Linked DNA regions of Homo sapiens: region 2 is linked to region 1. Evidence: promoter capture Hi-C in human tissues and cell types (Jung and others, 2019). All regions are on one chromosome and are shown on one strand. The core of a region is centred on a gene start or on the middle of the fragment in contact, and the rest is flanking DNA. Distances in the headings are between cores, read along the strand shown.

Region 1 (3,240 bases), core at 698-3,197:
CCGTGTGTTCTGTACAACCTGTTAAGAACTTACTTTTTTTTTTTTTTTTAACAAACGATCTCACTCTGTCACCCAGGCTGGAGTACAGTGGTACAATCACGACTCACTGCAGCCTCATCCTCTCAGGCTAAAGTGGTCCTCCTACATCAGCTGCCCAAGTAGCCGGGACCATAGGCATGTGCTACCACATCTGGCTAATTTTTTTTTTTTTTTTTTTTTTGGTAGAGAAAGGGTCTCACTATATTCACTATGCTGTTCTTGAACTCCTGGGCTCCACCTTCGCCTCCCAAAGTGCTGGGATTACAGGCATGAGCCACTGCACCCTGCTAGAACTTACATTTCTTAAGTTGTTGAAAAAAGCAAAATGAAAATAATATTTCATGATACATGAAAATTATGACATTCAAATTATAGTATCTATAAGTAAAGTATATAATTAAGTAAATAAATAAAACCATGCCGGGGTTGGGCTAGGTGGCTCACTCCTGTAATCCCAGCACTTTGGGAGGCTGAGGCGGGCAGATTGCCTGGGGTCAGGAGTTCTAGTCCAGCCTGGCCAACATGGTAAAACCCTGTTTCTACTAAAAGTACAAAAATTAGCTGGGCATGGTGGTAGGTGCCTGTGATCCCAACTACTCGTGAGGCTGAGGCAGGAGAATCACTTGAACTCCGGAGGCAAAGGTTGTAGTGAGCCGTGATCACACCACTGCACTCCAGCCTGGGCAACAGAGTGAGACTCCGTTTCAAAAAAAAAAAAAACCCATGCCCATTTGTATGTGTATTTTATGGCTGCTTTCCCATACAATGGCAGAGTTGAGTAGCTGCAACAGAGACTGTATGGTCCTCAAGGCCAAAAACATTTATTATCTGCCTCTTTAGAGAGAAAGTGTGCTTTCCTCTGCTTTAGACACTTTAACACAATTGTGGCTTGGAAGCTACAGAGACCTCCACAAAAGTTTGGTGGAAAAAATAATAAAACTAAACCATATTCAAGATGTTCTTTTACAACACAGACCATCTCTGGACATTTGAAGACAGTTGGGAAAAATGTTGCGACAACACCAAATTTAAGTCTAGAAGAAAATAAGTTAGACCAAATTCAAAGTATTCAAGGAAACAAGACCAAGAAATACTAAGAAAAATAACAGGCCGGGGGCAGTGGCTTGCACCTGTAGTCCCAGCATTTTGGGAGGTAGAGGGAGGAGGATCACTTGAGCCCAGGAGTTCAAGACCAGCCTGAGCAATCTAGTGAGACCTCGTCTCTACGAAAAATTTAAAAATTAGTCAGGTGTGGTGGTATGTGCCTGTAGTCCCAGCCACTTGGGAGGCTGAGGTGGAAGAATCGCTTGAGCCTAGGAGGATGAGGCTGCAGTGAGCCGTGATCACGTCGCTGCACTCCAGCCTGAGCGACAGAGCAAGACCCTGTCTCAAAAAATAAATAAATAAATAAAATTGTAAAATTAAAAAAGAAAAATCACTGTTCAGGGAGCTTGACTTAAAACATTACAGATGATAGTTGGATCAGATGACCTCTAATGTCCCTCCAACCCTGAAATTCTGTTTCTTCTAGTCTGTGAAGGTCTATGTTAGCACCTTAGTAATTCAAAGTGTGAATTTCTTAAAATGTGAATGCACCAATAAGAACACATCTCTTGCCAAGTAACAACCATGTTAGCTTTTTCTTCTCTTTTTTTCCAAATTTGCTTTGGAACAGAAAGAAAACCACAGATCTGAAGATTTCAACGAGACCTGTTAAGCCCCACAGACTTTGTCGCACCTGCTGTTACAAAATTGGAAAAAGCTAGAAACCCAGAGAGTCTCCTAGGAAACAAACTATGGATATTGGTCTTGCCTATCACAGGAGTGCTATTACAATATTCCCCAAGCTAAAGGTCTCACACATAAAAACTGACTCTGAGGGAAATAGAAGAAGTAGTAGAACACAGGAGAGACCAACCTTAACAGTTATCTTCAGTAAGAGCCACAGCTCCTCCCCCAGTTCATAAGGAAGCTGGAAGCAGATATCTCTACAAATAAGCAGGCAAATAATAAATTAAGTTTCCATAGTTTGACTCTTTACTTTGATCCAGCCAAAAGTAATTAGTTGGGTCTTCTGCCACGAGCTCTTCACAATAATTGCTGCTGACCTATGAGATATTCAAGATTCCTTAGGAATAGATTTGTATCCTTTCTCTCCGTCTGCAAGAAGAGTTTTTGATGGATGCTGACACCTTCAGGTGAGTTCCTCTTCTCAAAATAGCACCTGCCACTGTTCTAATCCCATTTTTCAGAGATAAATGTTAAGTCCAAACATTGTGTAAGGGGTTTCTCTACTCTGAGTCACTTCATCTCTCAATATTCTTACTTGTTTAGTTACTCAGTATAGTTCTTTTTCTGCTGTCACAAAAATTTTCTTTGCTGTTCTGCTCATATGACTATGTAACTACCATTTAGCCTTTTTATAAATAGTGGCTAATAGGCCAAGCATGTTGGCTCACACCTGTAATCCCAGCACTTTGGGATGCCAAGACGGGCGGATCACCTGAGGTCAGGAGTTCAAGACCAGCCTAACCAACATGGTAAAACCCCATCTCTACTAAAAATACAAAAATTAGCTGGGGGTGGTGGTACACGCCTGTAATCCCAGCTACTTGGGAGGCTGAGGCAGGAGAATCACTTGAACCTGAGAGATGGAGGTTGCAGTGAGCCAAGATGGCACAACTGCATTCCAGCCTGGGCAACAGAGAGAGACTCCATCTCAAAAATAAAAATTAAAATTAAAAAAATTAAAAAATTAAAAAATAGTGGCTAATATTGGATAACACTATTTCCCCCAGGCCTTTAATTGGCTAAATTTTTCTCCAAAGCTATTCTCCATTAAAAGTCCATTCACTGGTTTTAATACCAACCAGACTAGGAAGAGCATCTTCGAGTTCTGTGGTGGTGCCACCCTTGCTCTGTTCTTTTTGTCCTCACCAGGTCCCTTCCACCTATAAGACAAGTTCTCTGCCCAAAATTTGAAAAATGGACATGAGTAAAGCTATAACCTGATTTCTTTGTTGGCAAATATTTTAAACAGACAATTCTAACTCATTGCTAATAAGGGTTTTACATTTTAATAGAAATTGTCTCATGTCTCTCAATTTAATAACTCAAACTTTTCTCATATTATATATGTATATATTTGTTCCATTGTTATTCATCTTTAAATTATTTTCCATTTTATATGTCTTATTGTGA
Region 2 (3,107 bases), core at 408-2,907, 45 kb before region 1:
CACCATCTCAGCTCACTGCAACCTCCACCTCCCAGGTTCAAGCGATTCTCCAGCCTCAACCTCCCAAGTACGTGGGATTACAGGTGCACGCCACCACGCCCAGCTAATTTCTGTGTTTTTAGTAGAAACGGGGTTTCACCATATTGGCCAGGCTGGTCTCAAACTCCTGACCTTGTTATCTGCCCATCTCGGCCTCCCAAAGTGCTGGGATTACAGGCGTGAGCCATTCGTCCTCATTTTCTATCTGGAATTGAGATTCCTCATTTAGGAAAAAAGACAGGGTTTCAAAAGGGTACTGGCAGAGTCCAGCTTAGAGTTTTACTCCACCTCATAAACTGATCCCTCAAAATGTCAGCTTTTGTCTGTGCCTTTACCCTTGGTTCAGTATCCAAACCACAGCCTCAAGGGTTGCCTGAGAAGGGTTATGTGTGCATTCTGGGCCTCCAGCGCTCATGTCCTAAATCCAGTGGTACACAGCACACTCCTTATTTCCCATCCAAATTCATATTATCAAATCTCTTAAGGATTTTTCTTAGAAAAAGATCCAACTATTCCTTCAAAATTTTTAAACTCTTCTTAATGAAGATCTTGGTTTTTGTATTTCTTCCAACTGACCTCCTTCACTTCCCTGTACCCCTGAGTACATGTGCAAATCACTCTTAAGGCACATGGATGGTGCTGATTTTCCAAAAAGCAATAGATAGCCTACTCAAAACATGATAATTTGCGGAGAGTTTTCTCTGCATAGGAACTATGTACAAAGATATGGGAGTAGAGAAACCACAAGAAACAATTGAATAACCTAGGGCTCAGTAACACCTAAATTATTTACCACCATTAAGCCAAAAGAAACAAGAGAGGTATCTAAGTTTTCCTGAGTTATGTATGTAATAGTGAACAGTTCACCTCCAAGATAGAGTGTAGTCTTCTTGATGCAAGCTTCTTCCACCTGTGTTCTCTTGGTTATCTTCCTTAGGAACTAGAACTAAAGCGAGGTTAATTTCCACAGTGAGAACATGCTCCAGACATCCGAGCACCAGTGTGGCTCTGGAAACTCCACAGATACCACAGGACTAGAAAATAACTGGACAATGGGATGTTCTATCTTGCCCGAACTGAGGGATATAAAAAGCTCCAAAGGTAAGATCTCAAGGCAAGAGACATTGAAGCTGGACTCATCCCCAACTACTCAAGAAAACAAGGTCAAAGAGATGCTCAAAAATCAGAGCTTTACTCAAACATTGTAGAAGATAGTTAGATTTGATACATGTCAAATTCCTTCCAATCCTTCCTATGTTTCTTTCATTCTGTGAGATTTTATCTGAACACCCTGTGAAGCTTGGATTTGAACTTAGAAATATCTAACTCCGAAGTCCAAACACAGCTACTGCTCTTTGAACATGACAAGAGAGCTGGGTTCCCAGTTTGATCTACAATAATTCGAAAAACCTTGTCTCCTATCCTCTGGTAATGGCTTGCTCCAACATCTAGCATTCAACCACCTTCTAGGTGGAAATGAAAGAAGTTGCTGGGTTAAAGAGAAACTCTACTAGCAGAGAGAGAAAGTAACAAAGAATGGTACTCTTTCTTCTTGAAAATCTCTGTGGCAGAAAAACATGTTATCTAAAAACTTAAGGCTTGGCTGGGCATGGTGGCTCATGCCTATAGTTCCAACACTTTGGGAGGCCAAGGTGGGTGGATCACTTGAGGTCAGGAGTTCGAGATCAGCCTGGCCAACATGGTGAAACCCCATCTCTACTAAAAATACAAAAGTTAGCCAGGCATGGTGGCATACCTGTAATCCCAGCTACTTGGGAGGCTGAGGCATGAGAATCACTTGAACCTGGGAGGCAGAGGTTGCAGTGAGCCAAGATAGCACCTCTGCACTCCAGCCTAGGCGACAGAGTGAGACTCCATCTCAAAAAAAAAAATTAAGACTTTAGGAGAAAATAGATATGAAAACAAGGTCAAAATGAACCTATAAAAGTTCTTACGGATACTCTTCATGGTCACTAAATTAAAAAGATAAAAAGATAGCATACTGATTAAGGAGAATATCAGTAACTTACACGTCTTCAAATTTAAGATAATTGATTTTGTATAGTTCATTTCCATTGACCATTCACTCCTTGCTGAAAGTTTTTTAGACTTTATCTCCTTCTTGATTTCAATGAAGCACTCGAAATTTTTTTCATTTTTACAAATAACTCACATGTTAAAGGTCATTTGCCTCAGTGTTAGATTCTCCATTCAAACGTTCAGTATCTTTCTGATTTTATATAGAGTCCCACTATAGACACAGCTACATTTGAATAATTTGAAAGACTGAGATTCTTTGGATAACTTGACTTGCAGTCTTATAACTATCCAATGTTATACAGCCCTTATTCAGCTGATGATTAATTTATATTATAAAATTATAACAAGCACAGGACATCAGCATTGCTTACATACATCTCAGCTCTCTTCCTATTAAAGAAAATGAAGCTGAGTTCTGAGGGTCAAATGTATTTTCCCTGTGCTTTCAAAGTCTGCTAAAACATCTACTTACTCTCTCTCTTCACAAGAACATAAGCAACCTCAGTGCAGGTATGTTTTATTTAGTGATGCACCATAGCAATTGAAAGAGTGCCTAGCACATATAAGTATTCAGTAAAATATTTGTTGAGTGAAAACCATCCACTCTACCTTTCTACTCCCTACCACCAAGTCCCTCTTATTCTGTTTACCCCAAAATAAGTCATTAAAAATTAGCTAATAGAGGTCGGCGCAGTGGCTCACGCCTGTAATCCCAGCACTTTGGGAGGCCGAGGCTGGTGGATCATGAGGTCAGGAGACCAAGACCATCCTGGCTAATACGGTAAAACTCCCTTTCTACTAAAAATAGAAAAAATTAGCCAGGCGTGGTGGCCGATGCCTGTAGGCCCAGCTACTCAGGAGGCTGAGGCAGGAGAATGGCGTGAATCCAGGAGGCGGAGCTTGCAGTGAGCCGAGATTGGGCCACTGCACTCCAGCCTGGGTGACAGAGCGAGACTCCATCATACATACATACATACATACATACATACATACATACATACATACATAAATGTACTAAGCCAAAAAAT

Evidence for each region. Contacts are between HindIII fragments. The study calls those that stand out against the background at their distance.
Region 2: a fragment that was not itself captured here is called in contact with the fragment with the promoter of OR10G3 in region 1 in 2 of the 25 tissues and cell types used here (mesendoderm cells and thymus).

The regions. Positions count from the first base shown.
Region 1 is chr14:21,578,783-21,582,022 of GRCh38, reverse strand. It overlaps OR10G3 (olfactory receptor family 10 subfamily G member 3), which reads left to right and starts at 1,947. Exons shown (of 2, transcript NM_001005465.2): 1 at 1,947-2,237. The HindIII fragment of the contact is 16,961 bases long and covers 1,741-3,240 here.
Region 2 is chr14:21,623,436-21,626,542 of GRCh38, reverse strand. It overlaps TRA. Among named protein-coding and RNA genes, the nearest start is that of OR10G2, 10 kb to the left of the region's middle. The HindIII fragment of the contact is 5,146 bases long and covers 1-3,107 here.